Linked DNA regions of Homo sapiens: regions 2 and 3 are each linked to region 1. The links are contacts of gene promoters, found by promoter capture Hi-C in human tissues and cell types (Jung and others, 2019). All regions are on one chromosome and are shown on one strand. Each heading gives the region's core, a stretch centred on a gene start or on the middle of the fragment in contact. The rest is flanking DNA. Distances are from core to core; before and after follow the strand shown. Region 1 holds the start of AP2M1 (adaptor related protein complex 2 subunit mu 1). Region 2 has its middle 13 kb from the start of HTR3E-AS1. Region 3 has its middle 3.6 kb from the start of VWA5B2.

Region 1 (3,491 bases), core at 970-3,469:
ACTCACCCGATGTCATCTCGGTAGACTCGGGAGATGAGCACCTCCCCCTTGTGATTATAGATGAATAAGCCTCCAATCATGGCGGCAGATCAGTCTCCGCGGCCCATCGCTCTGAGAACAGACCTAGGACAGGCGGGGGCAGGGTAAAAGAAGACCTCAGAATCGCTGCCAACATCCCCTGTGGAGCTGTGCAGGTCACTGGAGCTTCTTTCCTGACTCAACCCTTTAGTAAGTGACCCTGCAGCCCTCCCAGACATGCCCCTCCCCTCAGCCAGGCTCCAGTTCCTGTTTATTCCACACTAGATGGGAGAAAGAAACAGAGAGAGATTAGGCCCAGGATTCTAAGGCCATTTTGACCCTCCCTTTCCTGGGGCTGAGCATCAGTAACCCCCGCCCCCTCTCCCCAGCACTGAGCTCAGGAATGATCCTTTTCGGCCCCCTCCTGTGCAGACTCTCGGGCTCCCGCCAGTGACTCACTAAGGCTTGCCTGCCTGCCTGCGGCTGCAGGAATGGCGGTAGGCATTACTCCAGTTGGTTCAGGCCTGGGGCCCCCAGGCATAACCTTTAGAGCATCCAGTCTCTTGGGCTCCACTACCCTTCAGAGAAGGTCGCAGGGCCTGAACTTCCGGCACTCTAATTCACAGAATTCAAACATTCCAGGAAAGGGTATAAGGAGAAGAGAAGGGAGCCCTTAGGCCCTAATGTGGACCCGGGAGTGTGGCTTAACCTCTTCCAGGCAGTGGAATAAGCAGGCAAAGGGCACAGGAGGAAGGTCCTAGGGCTGGCAGACTACACTTCCATCACCCAAGCTGCTTATTACAGTTATTTCTGATTACCACCCCCCTTTCAAAAAGCTCTGGAATGCAATAAAAATAAGGACTGGGGGGTGGGGGTGGCGCAGGCTCATAAAATTAAGAAATCCTTCCATCTGAAATCGTGATTCCAGGCCCATGAAGTAACTCATTTCTGGCCTGGGTGCCTATAAGCAAGAAGCAGGGATGTCAGGATGCCTGAATTATCCAAATTATTTGGGTCAAATTAATTTAGACTGTTTGAGAAAAGGCATTAATTTGGTTTTAGATTTCCTGGATTAGCCCTGGTATTAATTTCACAGGGAGTACTTTAGAGGACTTTTCTAAACTGGAAAATAAAGCCTTTTCCTGTGGCTGTCAAGGTCTTCCAGAGGGGTGAGCGGTCTCTCAAGGTGGTGGACTCATCCCATCCCTCAGTCCCAAACAGGCTGGGAGAGGAGATGCAAAATGGAGGTAGAGCCTGGGGCAAAGCACCAAGTCCACAGGTATCGAGTGGTAGGTAGCGAAGGGCACCCGAGAACCAGAGGGGGGCCTTGGGCAAGAATGGAACATTTAGTTAAGGGGAAAGACCTTCAGTGAAAGCCAGGCAGCGTCCTCAGGTGAGCCCACAGCAGCAAACTGGGCTGGTGGAGTGAACGTAAAGGTAAGGGTTTCCAGTATGGAAAAGGTCAAGGCTTTAAGAAGGAAAAACCGGCCGGGGGAACTGACAGTGGTGAATAAGGGAAAGCTGGGGAGACAGAGCCTGCTTGGGGTTCAGGTGCAGAGTAATGAGAGGGTGGTAGGCTTTTCGCCTTGGGGAGGACATTGTGGGAAAAGATGGTGCCATGGGGGTGCGGGGGCTGTCACAGGTCTAAGGAAGAAGAGCCGCGGGGTGCCACTGAACTAAGAGGAGGGGGTGCCGCATGGCGTGAGACCTGTCACGGTGCAAGGCGGCGGCACAAAGGGGTGTCACTGTCCTACGAGACGGGGAAATTGTCCTTGCGCGGAGGGGTAGGGGGTTGGCACGATCCTAGGGAGGGGGCGCTGCGCAGCGTTCCTGCTCTGGGAGGATTCCAAGCGGTATCCCTCTCATGGGAGGCGCCAGGCGGGTCAGGTGGAGGGCACCGCTCCCCGCCAGCCCTGCAATCGCGCCCCGGGCGCCCCCGCCCCACCGTCAGCTAGCTCCCGGGTCCGAAGGCTGAAGCCACTCCCGGGTGTGGGCAGCTTTCCGCCAGCTCAGTGCAGGGCAGGACAAAGCTGCGCGGCGAGGCAGACGACCCGCAGCGTCCTCCTCCACGCCATAAGGCCAGATCCCCGGCTCACCTGGTGTCCTCGGCCCCCTGCTCTGCCGGCCCGGCCACTCTCCGGATCCCAAGATGTCCGCCCGCCCCCTGCTCGTCTGCCCGCTGCCTCGGCTTTCACCGCAGTGCCGCCGCCCCGCCCCGGCCCCGGCTGCGCGTGCGCGCCGGCGTCTAGCGCCGACTACAAATCCCGTCAGGCCTCGCGGCCTCCTTGCTTGCAATTTGAAGCGCTCTAGGTTTAGCAAAACTACAACTACCGACTGCCTTCGAGAAACCGCCCCCGCCTCAGGAAGGGGTAGGCGTGGCCTTAGTCGGCCCTACCAGAAATACACATTCCAGCATACACCGCTCCACCCGCCTCATTTTTTTTTTTTTTTTTTTTTTTTTTTTTTTTTTCACTGAGCGCTCTGGGAATTGTAGTCCCTGCACTTCCTCCTGTTCCTATTTGTGTTCTGGAGAGCTTTGGGATATTAATGCCATTTGTGGAAGCACATCTGTTAAGCCTTGGATTGCTGTAGGCCTTTTCTGTCTCCAGAGTCCCAGGACTGGCTGTCCTCACTTTACACACAAATAAATACAACTGGGCAGTAGAAGTGTTTGTGCTGAATTTACTGCTTTCTAACACTACCTCTGATTCTCTCAAGCTTTTCTCATATATTTGTTCCGGACATGAGCTTTTTCCAAGGGATCAAGACCCAAGGAGAGGAGCGGGGAGGAAGGAGGCGACTACTTGGAAGAAACTAAACCTTTTCACAAATAAGTCCATGACTGTACACTCTTCCCGGAGGTCAGCTACAGCTTTTCATGAACGAGCCGATGTTCTCCTTAGCTATACCTATGCGACTGTGTATGCCTTCTAGTGACAGGCATATATGTTGCTTAGAAGACGTTCGAAGAGTTGAATTTAGTTTGACATGGGATTTGAAATCCCCTCTTTGATAAACAGAATCTTTACATCCAAGCTGAGGAGACAGACCCAACCCTCACACATGAAAGGCCTGCTTGGTTCTTGCAGAGTCTTAAGAAAATCTGTTGGCTCTTCTCTTTCTGTAGGCAGAGATAAACTGCTGCCTTCCTTGGGCAGGACTACGCCTGTCATGGGAGGAAGGAAGGGCAAGAAAGGACAGATCTGGTTGCAAATGTTACAGTCCTTCCCAGCCTCCAGCCAGAAGCCACGATGTGGCAGGATGAAGATCTGACCTCTCTCACATCATAGTCACGGCCTGAAGTCATTAAGTGACTGAATACAGGCACTTCTAATTTTTGAACCAGCACTCAAGGCTTCACTTCTACCTTTGCAAAAGCTTTATCTTCCAAAAATACCCTAAACTGCTACCAATTTAGAGTAAATAATAATAATGATAAAATAATAATAATAATAGCTACCATTTATTGAGCA
Region 2 (3,608 bases), core at 132-2,631, 56 kb after region 1:
CCCGGCTAATTTTGTATTTTTAGTAGAGACAGGGTTTCTCCATGTTGGTCAGGCTGGCCTCAAACTCCTGACCTCAGGTGATCCGCCTGCCTAGACCTCCCAAAGTGCTTGGATTATAGGCATGAGCTACCGCGCCCAGGCTTATCTATCTTTCTTTTTTATCGTTTGTGCTTATAATAGTCATATATAAGAAATCATAGCCCACCCCAAGATCGTGAAGATTAACTGCTATGTTTTCTTCTAAGAAAACATTTAGCTCCTATGTTTAGGACTGTGATCCATTTTGAGTTGATTTTTGTGTATGGTGTGAGGGGTAGGGGTCCAAAGACATTCTTTTGCATGTGGATATCCAGTTGTCTAAGCACCATTTGCTGAAAAAAACTATTCTTTTTATCATTGAATTATTTTGTTCCCTTTGTAGAAAATAAATTGACCGTAAATGTTAGGGTTTATTTATGAACTCTCCATTCGAATTTCGTTGACCTATATGTCTTTCCTTATGCCAGTATCACACTATCTTGATTACAATATCTTTGTAGTAAGTTTTTTTTTTTAAGATGGAGTCTTGCTCTGTCTCTCAGGCTGAAGTACAGTGCCACGATCTCGGCTCACTGCAACCTCCACCTCCTGGGTTCAAGCGATTCTCCTTCCTCAGCCTCCCGAGTAGCTGGGATTACAGGCACACGCCACCATGTCCAGCTAATTTTTGTATTTTTAGTAGAGATGGGGTTTTGCTACTTTGGCCGGGCTGGTCTCAAACTCCTGACCTCAGGCGATCCCCTCGCCTCGGTCTCCCAAAGTGCTGGGATTACAGGTATGAACCACCGCGCCTGGCCTGCAGTACGTTTTGAAATGAGGAAGTGTGAGTCTACCAACTGTGTTCTGCTCCAGGATTGTTTTGATTATTCTGGGCCTGTTGCATTTCTGCCTTTTTTTTTTTTTTCTTTTAAACTCATCTGTATTTGTTACAACCTTTTTAAGCAGAATGTGACTTGGGTACTACAGTTCCATTCACAAGCCTCGCTCTGGGTTATTTCTGAACAGCTTTACAATATGCCTAGGTAGGCTTATAATTTTGCTCCTGCAAACAATATTTTCCTTTGGAAAACAAGTCCTGTGGAGAGTTCCTTCCATCAAGTTGCTTCAGTTTAACATATTTCCAGAGGACAATTACATGCAGAATTGGCAACTACAGGATGAAAAGTTTAAAAAGTAGATCCTAGAAGATGCAACAAATACTTTTCCTCTAAACATCAAGGTATTTCTCAGAAAACTTCAGTGACAAAGATTTGGCCTACTAAGGAATCTGGCTTGATAGCTTAAACAGTTTAGATCACAAAGTTAATGTTAGGTTACATACATCTTTTTTTTTTCTTTTCTTTCTTTCTTTCTTTCTTTTTTTTTTTTTTTGAGGTGGAGTCTCTCTCTGTTGCCCAGGCTAGAGTACAGTGGCGTGATCTTGGCTCACTGCAACCTCCACTTCCTGGGTTCAAGCAATTCCCCTGCCTCAGCCTCCCGAGTACCTGGGATTACAGGCACCTGCCATAGCACCCAACTAATTTTTGTATTTTTAGTAGAGACGAGGTTTTGTCATGTTGGCCAGGCTGGTCTTGAACTCCTGACCTCAGGTGATCCACCCGCCTCGTCCTCCCAAAGTGCTGGGATTACAGGCGTGAGCCACCGCACCCAGCCTACATACATCTTACAACACACATTACCCCAATCTGTTAAAATAAGCCAATGTGAAACTAGAAAAGCATTGCTAGCTCTGTTTTAGTGCCTGAAGTATCACAAAATCACTTAGAAGTATCACAAAATCACTTAGAAGTAGAAAGAAACCTTACCTTCCCCCTGAAATAGTTATTGTCATGCCATGCAGACTTTTTTTTTTTTTTTTTTGAAGGCAGAGTCTCCCACTTTCTCCCGGGCTGGAGTGCAATGGCGTGATCTCAGCTCACAGCAACCTCCGCCTCCTGGGTTCACATGATTCTCCTGCCTCAGCCTCCTGAGTAGCTGGGATTACAGGTGCACACCACCACACCCGGCTAATATTTTGTTTTTTTTTAGTAGAGATTGGGTTTCGCCATGTTGGCCAGGCTGGTCTCGAACTCCTGACCTCAGGTGATCCACCTGCCTCAGCCTCCCAAAGTGCTGGGATTACAGGTGTGAGCCACCACGCCCGGCCCCCATACAGACTTTTTAAATGTTAACAAAAATAACTAAAATAATCCTGAAAATATATTATCAGAGAGAATGAAGATAGAGTATTGAACACATGTACAAGTCATTCCTCAGCCAGAGCCGCCTACTTCTTCCATGCGTGATGTGTCATCACCTCCTCTGAGGGGCGGCATTTCTTTAGTTATAGCGGCATTGATATCATTAGCAGTAGGATCATATTCATCAACACCCAGACCAAGTTTGATCATCCTATAGATCTTGTTAGTATGTCTCTGAGGGTCTTCCATACTGAAGCCAGGAGATGGGAGTGCAGTTTAGTAAAGCAAGATGACCAGATCCTTCACTGACTTGTTGTTCTTATCAGCCTCTGCCTTTTGCCTTAAGGTTTCAATCATGAATGGTCAGGGTTTATCTCCAGGTGTTTCTTTGCTGCCACGTAGCCCATTGTTGAGTTGTCTTACCGGGCTTGAGCTTTCATGATTCTTTCCATGTTTGCTGTCCAGCCATATGTGCTTGTGACAATACAGCATGGGGATGTCACCAGTTTGACACAACCACCTTTTTGACTTTTTTCTCCAACATGTCTTTCATGATTTTGCAGAGGTTCTCAAACTTTGTTTTTTTCTCTTCCTGTTTCTTTTTTTCTTCTTCATCTTCTGGAAGTTCCAAACCCTCTTTGGCAACTGACACTACAGTCTTACTCTCAAGTTCCTTCAGCTGCTGGACACAGTACTTATCAATCAACTCGATCATATAGATCACTTCTAAGCCATGCTTCTGAAGACATTCCACAAAGGCTGAGTTAGCTACTTGGTCCTTGGTCTCACCTGTAATGTAATAGATATGTTTCTGGTTTGCCTTCATTCTGGAAAACACAATGAGATAAACCATCTCATCACGAGAGGCAGATGTGCACTATTTCAACAGCTCTGAAAGCTTCTTCTGATTTTGAGAGTCTATATATTCAAAGATTTATGTTTTCAGATAACTTCTCGTGGAACTTTTTGTAGTTCTTTTTATCCTCTGCCAGTTCAGCAAAGAGTTCTAAGTATGTTTTGACCAAATTCTTCCTAATAACTTTCAAAATTTTGCTTTGTTGCAACATCTCAGAAAAAATATTTAGAGGGAGATCCTCTGAGTCCATCACCCCTCTAATGAAGTTCAGGTATTCAGGGATTAGCTCCTCACAGTTACCCATGATGAAAACTCTGTGTACATACAACTGAATGTTGTTCTTTTTCTTTCTGTTTTCAAATAGGTCAAAAGGAGCACATCTTGAAACAAAAAGAGCTCTTCTAAACTCTTCGACTGTCCTTCAACTCTTCCAACTGCCCTTCAACTGAAAAGTGCTTCACTGCCAAGTGATCTTCCCAGTTATTGGTCAAGCTCTGATGGAACTCTCCATACTCCTCGTTAGTAATAGCGTC
Region 3 (3,891 bases), core at 1,011-3,510, 51 kb before region 1:
AAATGAACCAAGAGCTACATGTAGCCCTTGGACAAACATGAGGTTGCAAATAGCAGTCATTAGGGAGGTCTCCGACACATGGAAATGGAAAAAGAGGTCCTTCTGTTTGGTCCTGAGGAGAGCTTAGATGTAAGACAGCCTCCCAGGAAGATAGCATCCCTATCAGAGACCAGACACACACACTGGCAGAAGTCAAACTTTGCTGCAAAGCTGGACCAACCCTGAGATCTTGCTAGGAAGGTCTCCTTAGCTGAGGCAAATGGAGGGAGAGACAGGTGAATGGCTCCACAAAAAGCATAGGGCACCCTGCAGGATGAGGGGCAGGGGGTGGGGAGCCAGTGCTGGCTGCCTGGCACCTTGGGTGGGGCAGTAAGAAGGGTCTCTGAGGCCCAGCTGGAAGGCCCTCTGGTGGTGAGGCAGCAGCATGACAGCCAAGGGCAGAAGGGGACAGCACAGGAACCAGATTCCAGATCTGAGGCCGGGCTGAGGGATAGCATGGGGTGGGCTACGTGGTAGTCATAGGAGAATAGATGATATAGATGATATACATATAGATATAGATATATAGATATATTTTTTGAGACAGAGTTTCGCCCTGTCGTCCAGGCTGGAGTGTAGTGGAGCGATCTCGGCTCACTGCATGCAACATCTGCCTCCCAGGTTCAAGTGATTCTCCTGCCTCAGCCTCCTGAGAAGCTGGGATTACAGGCGAGCACCAGCATGCCTGGGTAATTTTTTGGATTTTTAGTAGAGACAGGGTTTCACCATGTTGTCCAGGCTGGTCTTGAACTCCTGAGCTCAGGCAATCTGCCTGCCTCAGCCTCCCAAAGTGCTAGGATTATAGGCATGAGCCACTGCGCCTGGCCCATAGGAGGATATTGAGCTGAAAAGACTTAGCTTCTGCCTAGGAGAGTCTCACACTTTAGTGAAAAGGGCAGACAAATATACAGTTACAGTAGCTTGAGATAAGTGCTGCATTACAAGAGTAATAGTAATGGATATTATAAAAGCTTTTAACTGGCTGGCGGTGGCTCACACCTGTAATGCCAGCACTTCAGGAGCCTAAGGCAGGAGAATCCCTTGAGGCCAGGAGTTTGAGACCAGCCTGGACAACATAGGGAGACCCTATCTCCATAACAATTAAAAATTAAAAAACAAATCTTAACCAAGGGTGGTGGTGATGTGGGGAATAGGGTGAACCTTAGGGAACTGACTTAGAAAATGGCACTCAGCCAGGTCTTCTTGTTGCAAAGCACAACTCAATTATCTCCTGCTTGTGGGCTGCCTGTCGGCCTTTGGAGGGCAGAGGTCTTATTTCCCCAAACTATAGATGATCTACCCTCTCAGATTGGAGCTCCAGAAGAGATATACCTAGAGAAAAAGAGGAATTTTGCCTCTTGCTGTCTAAAGCTTGACTTCCAAAATCCCAGCCCCTGCCTGAAACCCAAATTGGAAGATGGTTTAGTTCATTAATTCATTTGTTCACTCAAGAAATATTTCTTGTTGAAGCCTGCGGTGTGCTAGAGCTGGAACTACAGCAGAAAACAAGACAGTGGTAGCCCCTCCCCTCACGAAAGACGTCAATTAAACAATTAATTTTTAAATTTTGTATTTCAAAATAACTTCAAAACTTCTACAAAAGTTGCAAATAAAGCATTTTTTTCTGAACCATTTCAAATTAAGTTTTACACATCCGACCTCTTTACCCCTAAACACTTCGGTTTGTCTTTTCTTTTCTTTTTTTTTTTTTTTTCAGAGACAGGGTCTCACTCTGTCACCCAGGCTGGAGTGGAGTGGCACAATCATAGCTCACTGCAGTCTTGAACTCTTGAGCTCAAAGGATCCTTCCTCCTTGGCTTCCCAAAGTACTGGGGTTACAGGTGTGAGCCACCATGCCCAGCCAGTTGGTGTGGGGGGGGGTAGTTTTTTTTATTTGTTTGTTTGTTTGTTTGTTTTGAAACACAGTCTCACTGTTTTGCCTAGGCTGGAGTGCAATGGCTCAATCTCAGCTCACTGCAACCTCCGCCTCCCGGGTTCAAGTGATTCTCATGCCTCAACCTCCAGAGTAGCTGGGACTACATGTGCACGCCAGAATGCCTGGCTAATTTTTGTGTTTTTGTTTTTATTTTTATTTTTTGAGATGGAATCTCACTCCGTAGTCCAGGCTAGAGTGCAGTGGTGCGTGTGCAATCTCAGCTCACTGTGACCTCCACCTCCCAGTTCAAGCGATTCTCCTGCCTCAGCCTCCCGAGTAGCTGAGAATACAGGCACCCACCACCATGCCCAGCTAATTTTTGTATTTTTAGTAGAGATGGGGTTTCACCAAGTTGGTCAGGCTGGTCTCAAACTCCTGACCTCAAGTGATCTGCCTGCCTCAGCCTCCCAAAGTGTTGGGATTATAGGTGTGAGCCACTGCTCCCAGCCTTTAAGAGTCTTCTACTGGGAGTAGTTTCTCCTTTTTGTCTTTTGTGATACTGACACATTTGAAGAGTACTGGCCAGTTGTTTTGTAGAATGTCCGTCAGTTTGAGTTTGTCTGTTGTTTCCTCATAATTAGATTCAGGATATGCACTTCCCATAGGAACACCACATAAGTGACGTTGTACCCTTCTCACTATATCTCATTGGGAGGATGTACATGTCAGTTACAGTTACTGGCGATTTTAACTTTGATCCTTTCAATAAGGTGGTGTGTTAGGGTTCTCCAGAGAAAACAGAACCAACAGAGATTGAGAGAGAGAGAGAGAGAGAGAGAGAGAGAATACGTATATATAAAATAAGGAATTGGCTCGTGTGCTTGTACAGGCAAGTCCAGTGCGGGCTGGCGGGCTAAAGACCCTGGAGACCGGATGGTGCAGATGAAATTTGGAGGCAGCCTGCTGGAGAATTTCCTCTTTCTCATGGAGGTCCATCTTTTTGTTCTGTTCAGGCCTCAAGTGATTAGATGAGGAACATTGTGAAGGTTAACTCTGGGTCTTAGCTTGACTAAATTAAGGAAGACCTATTCAGAAGCCGGGGCCAGGCGCGGTGGCTCACGTCTATAATCCCAGCACTTTGGGAGGCCGAGGTGGGCAGATCACCTGAGGTCAGGAGTTTGAGACCAGCCTGGCAAACATGGCAAAACCCTGTCTCTATTAAAAATGCAAAAATTAGCCAGGTGTGGTGGTGGACAACTGTAATCCCAGCTGAGGTGGGAGAATTGCTTGAGTCTGGGAGGCGGAGGTTGCTGTGAGCTGAGATCACGCCACTGCACTCCAGCCTGGGTGACAGAATGAAACTCCAACTCAAAAAAAAAAAGAAGCCTGACTATAGTCTGGAAAAAAAAAAGAAGACTAGAGAAGCGGTAAAACATTCCTTCGGGTGCATCTGTGAGGGTGTTTCTAGAAGAGATTGGCATGTGAGTAAGTGGACTGAGTAGGGAAGATCTGCCCTCATTGTGGGAGGGCACCATCCAATCTGCTGGTGGCCCACATAGAACAAAAAAGGAGAGAAAAGAATTTCCTCTGTCTCCTTCTCCTGGAGCTGGGACACTCCTTTTCCTGCCCTTGGACATCAGAACTCTAGGCTCTCTGGCCTTGAGACTTATACCAGAGGCCTCCCAGGTTCTCAGGTTGTCGATGGCCTCAAACTGAGAGTTACGCCATTGGCTTCCCTGGCTCTAGGCCTTTGGATTTGGACTTGGACTTGGACTGCCACATCCCAGGGTCTCCAGCTTGCAGAGGGCTGGTTGTGGGATTTCTCAGCATCCATAGTCATGTGAGCTAATTCGCCTAATAAATCCCCTCTCATCCATTTATCTATTTATCTGTCTGTCCATCCATCCATCCATCCATCCATCCATCCATCCAACCATTCATCCATCATCTATCCCCTATTGGTTCTGTCTGTCTGG

The links. Contacts are between HindIII fragments. The study calls those that stand out against the background at their distance.
Region 2: a contact is called between a fragment that was not itself captured here and the fragment with the promoter of AP2M1 in region 1, in 1 of the 25 tissues and cell types used here (hippocampus).
Region 3: a contact is called between a fragment that was not itself captured here and the fragment with the promoter of AP2M1 in region 1, in 1 of the 25 tissues and cell types used here (adrenal gland).

What each region holds. Positions count from the first base shown.
Region 1 is chr3:184,173,583-184,177,073 of GRCh38, reverse strand. AP2M1 (adaptor related protein complex 2 subunit mu 1) reads right to left here and starts at 2,219. Exons shown (of 12, transcript NM_004068.4): 1 at 2,115-2,219; 2 at 7-123. The coding sequence starts at 80. It overlaps DVL3 (dishevelled segment polarity protein 3), which reads right to left. Exons shown (of 15, transcript NM_004423.4): 15 at 3,460-3,491. RefSeq lists enhancers at 1-569, 2,102-2,171 and a silencer at 1,842-1,891. The HindIII fragment of the contact is 8,082 bases long and covers 1-3,066 here.
Region 2 is chr3:184,116,582-184,120,189 of GRCh38, reverse strand. It overlaps the pseudogene HSP90AA5P. Among named protein-coding and RNA genes, the nearest start is that of HTR3E-AS1, 13 kb to the right of the region's middle. The HindIII fragment of the contact is 9,466 bases long and covers 1-3,608 here.
Region 3 is chr3:184,224,086-184,227,976 of GRCh38, reverse strand. No RefSeq gene overlaps it. Among named protein-coding and RNA genes, the nearest start is that of VWA5B2, 3.6 kb to the left of the region's middle. The HindIII fragment of the contact is 4,117 bases long and covers 202-3,891 here.